2 separate regions of the Homo sapiens genome follow, and region 1 is linked to region 2. Evidence: promoter capture Hi-C in 16 types of primary human blood cells and fetal thymus (Javierre and others, 2016). All regions are on one chromosome and are shown on one strand. The core of a region is centred on a gene start or on the middle of the fragment in contact, and the rest is flanking DNA. Distances in the headings are between cores, read along the strand shown. Region 1 has its middle 6.0 kb from the start of PSTPIP1. Region 2 holds the start of LINGO1 (leucine rich repeat and Ig domain containing 1).

Region 1 (2,700 bases), core at 111-2,610, 640 kb after region 2:
ATTCCTCCATTCTGCCTCATTCTCTTCTTTCCCGGGTCCTTCACACATGATCACCCCTCTGCCTGGAAGCTTCTTCCCGTTCCATCCTAGACCCTGCCTTGGCCCAGCTAACTACTCCTTATCCCTTGGCCCTCTTATCAAATGTCACCTCTTCAGGAAAGCCTTTCCTGACCAATAAATGGATGGACAAATGGACAAAATGCAGGCAAGATGGAAAGCAAATAAACATCTTTTTTCTTTTTTCCTTTTTTTTTTTTTTTTTTTTTGGGACAGTGTCTCGCTCTGTCGCCCAGGCTGGAGTGCAGTGACACAGTCTTGGCTCACTGCAGACTCTGCCTCCCAGGTTCAAGCAGTTCTCCCAGCCTCAGCCTCCCAAGTAGCTGGGATTACAGGCATGCACCATCATGCTTGGCTAATTTTTATATTTTTAGTAGAGACAGGGTTTCACAGTGTTGGCCAGGCTGGTCTCAAACTCCTGACCTCAGGTGATCTGCCTGCCTTGGCCTCCCAAACTGCTGGGATTATAGGTGTGAGCCACTGCACCTGGCCGAATAAACACCATTTTGAAGGAAGTTCAGCCAAGTTCTCAGGGGCTGGAAGAGAAGACGTTGTTGGGGGAATAGCTCTCAGAGGTGAGGCTGACACCAAGCTGGAGGGCGGGACTGCACTCTGAGGGTCCTAAGATTCTAATTTGTTATCCAGGAAGAATCTAAAGCGAGAGCTTCCAGCCTTCTGAAGAGGGGCAGGGGCTGGAAAGAAGAGGGAGAGAAGGAGGGTCTGAAAGCTCTTTGGTGACATTCGAAGAGCCAGGAGGCCCTTGCCATGAATTTCATTTGGAGATGGCATTGCCACTGGTCCAAGGGGTAGGGCAAGTGACGCACGCTTCTCCCTTCTGCAGGGGAGCATCTGTCCTGCAGGAGTAATTCTCAACCTGCCATCAGCTTATGGCCAGAAGGGCATTCATGAGTCGGCCATTTAGACCTCGGTGGATGCACTGTCATGACGCTGCCCATGGCTGTAGGGTTGTGCACCCATCCCATGGCTGAAGTGGGATGTTCCAGCACCTGGCCATGATGGTTCACTATTGCTGGGGGAAATACCTGTAGGGTCCCTCCAGGTGGCCAGAGGCACATGCCTACTGTACTGGGGCAACCACTGTCCACCCCACTTACCCTGTCCCAGATTGGAACAAGCTCCACTGCAGCACACCCACCAGCACTGACTGAGCCTTCCTGTCTGGGAACATGCAAATGAACAAGCTCAGCCCCTGCCAGTCTGGTGAGGGAGGCAGCCTAGGAAGGGAAAATGTGCTGTGCGCAGACAACAGAGAAAGGCTGTTGAGGAGCCTGGCCTGGGAAGTCCTCCCAAAGGAGGGGAGCTGGGTCTTGATTAATGGGAAAGAGCTCACCCGTGAGGCAGGAAGGGAGTTCCAGAATAACGCTAATAGTCTACTAGGGCTGTGCTGCATCAGGCTCTGCTGTAAGCACTTCCCATGCCTTATGTATCACTTAATCTTCCCAACAACAGTGTGAGGCATTACGGCCACATTCAACAGATAAGGAACCTGAGGCTTAGACAGGTCAGTTAACTTTTCGGAGTCCCATCGCTAAAAAGGGTCTTTCCTCCCCAGAGTGTGGGGCTGGCAGTGAGGGGCCAGGGCCTGGGGCAGAAACAGGATGAGGAAGAAGGGAAAAGCAAGTCCCCACTGAGGAGGAAGTGCAGAGCCCATGCGGGGTGGGGGTGTGGCGCTCAGATGGAGGCTCCTCTCCTCTGACTCCAGGAAATATCCTTGCCCCAGAGTCCTCCACTGGGGCTGAGGGTGTGGCCTTTGGCCTTCAGGATGTGATACAGTTTGTTTTTCAGTTTGCCCCCAGGGACAGCAGTTGCAAAAACTAAGGCCTCTTCCCACTCACACAGCTCGCCTGAGTTGACGAGGAGCTTTCAGGTTTACTAATTTGCAGCCACAAGAGTGTGACTCTGAGTTTCCAAGCATTATCAGTCGTCAGAAGCCGAGTGCCGGTCAGGATTCTTGAAAGACAGCAAAGAGGTGCAAAGTGGCCCTTCGGGAGGTGGCCCAGGAACTGGTGGGCATGGGGAAGGGGCCTCAGTGAGTCCCAGGAATCCACTGCCACCCGATCACTGGTCAGAGGACGGAGGACTGCAGTGATGGAAGAGCCTGCAGGGACTATCTGGAGGTGCTCAAACAGCACAAAGTGTGCCTACCAGAAGTGGGACTTTGTTAAAAAAAAAAAAAAAAAAAAAAGCAAAAGGCCAAGTCCCAACCTTGGCCTACTGACTGGGTGGGGCCAGGGAGTATAGATTTTAGGTTTCGTAAGTGAGTCAGTCATACACCTTGGAGGAGAACTCCTGCTATTGCCTTACTTTCTCATTTTACAAATGGGAAACTGAGGCCCAATAAGTGGGGTAGCAGGGCCCAGAGGGGGACCAGTAGAATGATCTCACTGACAGGGAAGGAAAGGCATAACCATCTCCCACCCCCCAACCCCTTTTCTAGCCTGTTTTGTTTTGTTTCCATTATGGCAGCTGTCTCTCAAAACAGCTTCAAAAATGTGTTTCTAGCATCCTCTCCCCCCTTGGGTTGGTTTTAATTCAGGTGGAAAATGACTTGTTCACAGTAAAGCAAAGCTTGATTTCAGCCCAGCTGGTGTTTAATTTTCCCTGAAAACCTAGGATTCAGAG
Region 2 (2,805 bases), core at 119-2,618:
GAAGGTCTGTGCAAGCCTTTGGGCTGTGTGTGAGGCTGAACAGCGAGAAACAAGGTGCTGTTGGGGGTGGGGAGAGGTCCCTCCGTGGCAACCAGGCATCTCTGCAATGATGTTGCGCAGGCTTCCTGGGAGAGGGGGTGTCACTGGAACTGGGATTCCAGCGTCTGCCCCAGAATCCGAGAGGCTTTGGGCTAGATCCCCTCCCCCAGCCTCAGCTGCCCCTGTGGACTCAAGCTATTAGGAGTATTCATGTGCTAATGGGTTGTTCCCAGCAGGGGAGGAGGGATGGCCGTGCCGGGCGGTGTCAGCATTGATGGTTATTCTAATAAAACTGGCTTGGTGGTAAAGGGCGTCTGGCTTCAAGGAGATGGAGGGGGTAGTATAGGGAAAAAGGTGAGGTCCTGAGGGTGGTAACCTACTCTGCAGGCTTTGCCAAGACATCCCTGCTGGCCTAGTTTCTGTATCTGAGGATCAAGGAGGATCTGGATCTCCGAGGAGAGGTCCCATTCCTTGGGCCCGTCTGAAGTTGTGGCCCCAGCCGAGGATCCCCGGGACCATTCCGGGAGGAGGGAACAGTCAAGCCCAGGCGGAGGCTCTGCGCTGCCCTCTGCTGGCCACTGGGTGCAGGGCCTCCGGACGGAGCGGGCCAGAGAGGCCTGCCGCCCTCTGCTGGACAGGAAGCCAGGCTGGGCGGGGACCCCGGCTCCTGGGTAGAGCTGCCGGGCCAGCGCGGCTTCCTCGCCGTCCCCTGGAGCTTCCCATTCTGCCTGCCTCGCCCTCCCGCGCTAGAATGTGGGCCCTCTAGCCTCGCGGACTTTCGAGAGGAGGGGACAGGGCCAGGACGGGGGCTCCCGGTCGGCCTCCCCATGCCGCCCTCCAAACAACCCTGTTCGTGTAGGGAGCCCTGTCCGTCCTCGTGCGTGTGTTCGTCCACAGCCCAGTTAACACGTGTAAACACACTCGCGCGCTCACATGCACACGCATGTGGCAACACAAAAATCACACACAACGGTGTGCGCGCATACACCCAGGGAGGACCGCACGCCGGACTCCCCGACACCCGGCTGGCCCGGGACTCGCCCAGAGCCCCGGACCCGGAGGGGCGCGGCCGTGTGCAGAGCTGGAGCGCCTGGCTGGTGCGCCCCTCGCCTGCGCACCCCTGCCTGTTTCGCTGCCCTAAGCGTGCAGGGCAGCGGCTGGGGCGCCCCTCGCTCTCCGCCCCCTCCGCTGAAAGGAGACGAACCACCCCCCACCCCACCACCACCATCACCAGGTTTTGCGGCCGCGCCTTCTCCTCCCCCGCCCGGCTCCCGCGGCTCACTCGCTCCCTCCTCCCTCGATCCCTCCTCCCTCCCTGGCTCGCTCCTAGTGCTCCCTCCCCGCGCCGCTGCAGAGCGCGGAGCCCGAGCGGGAGCCGGCGCGGGAGCCGGAGCGGGCGGCGGGCGACAGCGCAGGCGGCGGCGGCGGCGGTGGGTCCTGGTCCCGGCCCCGGAGGGCGCGGAGTCCCCACCCGCGCCGCTCCGGCCCCTCTCCCGACGCGGGGCGCCGAGCAGCATGCGCGGCCGCTGCCCGCCGGCCCCGGCCCCGCGGCGGAGCGCGCCCGGCCTCGACCCCGGCCCCAGCGGCAGAGGCGGCGGCGGCGGCTCCGGGCCGGCCCAGGGGGCAGAAGCAGGCTCGCGCAGCCCCTGTCCCGCGGCCTGAGCGCGCCCGCCCATCCGCCCGCCGGGGCCGCGGCCTCCCGCCTCCCCACTCCCGAGCCCCGGCCCCGGCTCCGGCTCGGCTCCCGCCCGCGCGGGGCGGACAGACGGACAGCCAGCCCCGCGAGGGCGCGCGGACTGCCGGGCGGAGGTGTCGGAGGAGGAGGAAACGGAGGAGGGGGCTGGGCAGGGGCTGGGGCCTGGTCGGGCCGGCTGGAGAGACATGCGATTGGTGACCGAGCCGAGCGGACCGAAGGCGCGCCCGAGATGCAGGTGAGCCAGGCGGCCGCGGCCGAGCCCCGAGCGGGCAGCCCCGCGGCGAGTGCCCCTGGGGGCCGCCATCGGCCCTGGCTGCGCCCTCCTGGGGTTGCAGGGCACCTCGGTGCCACCCAGACCTCCTTTGGGGTCATAGGCCTGATTTCCCCTCAAGCCTCAGAAATGAAAATTCTTCCTTTTCCACCTCCCCTCTCTCCAACCCCAACAAATTCCGGGTTTGTAAGCTGGGAGCCTGGAGCTGGGGAGGGGCCCCCACGGGTGTCCCAGACCTGCTCTGGTCTCCCCTTCCTGTCCCCCCTCCCATTCTGAGTATTGGTCACTCTAGAGGGTAAGCCCCCTGCTCAGCCCTGGGTGGGTACCTCCCTTCGTGGACCCCAGGTACCCCCAGGCAGCCCCCACCAGCACCAGACACTCCCTAGCTGGTGGACACAGGTCAGGGGCTGGGTTTCTCCACAAGCTCCAGCCTGGATGGCAGCTCCCCACCACACACAAGCATCGCCCCTTTCCAGCTCCTGCCCAGTGAAAAGGAGATGGGGAGTAGGGAGAGTGGAAGGAAGGGAGTTGGGGACCGGGAGCGCCCAGGAACGCTTTAGGGGCCTCCCCTTTGTCTGCGTTCAGCCCGGGCTTCTCACCTCCTCTTGCCCCACTTTTCATTCTAAGGCAGAGCGGGTGGGAGGTGGGAACCAGCTGAGAAGAGGGAGGTAAGGAGGGAGCCTCCTGCTCCCCCTCACACCCTTTTCGGGGTGGGCTGTGGGCTCTCTGCTCTCAAGGCATGCCAGGAGATGTGACCCTCCGGGCGGATCCCACTTTGAGAAGGAGGGGTGGGGCCAGG

What was found. Contacts are between HindIII fragments. The CHiCAGO score rates a contact against its expected background, and 5 or more counts as called.
Region 1: a fragment that was not itself captured here is called in contact with the fragment with the promoter of LINGO1 in region 2 in 1 of 17 cell types (endothelial precursors); the score reaches 5.0 in endothelial precursors.

What each region holds. Positions count from the first base shown.
Region 1 is chr15:76,987,817-76,990,516 of GRCh38, reverse strand. No RefSeq gene overlaps it. Among named protein-coding and RNA genes, the nearest start is that of PSTPIP1, 6.0 kb to the left of the region's middle. RefSeq lists an enhancer at 1,986-2,145. The HindIII fragment of the contact is 2,577 bases long and covers 72-2,648 here.
Region 2 is chr15:77,631,475-77,634,279 of GRCh38, reverse strand. LINGO1 (leucine rich repeat and Ig domain containing 1) reads left to right here and starts at 1,368. Exons shown (of 2, transcript NM_032808.7): 1 at 1,368-1,970. The coding sequence starts at 1,965. RefSeq lists enhancers at 415-544, 1-549. The HindIII fragment of the contact is 14,548 bases long and covers 1-2,805 here.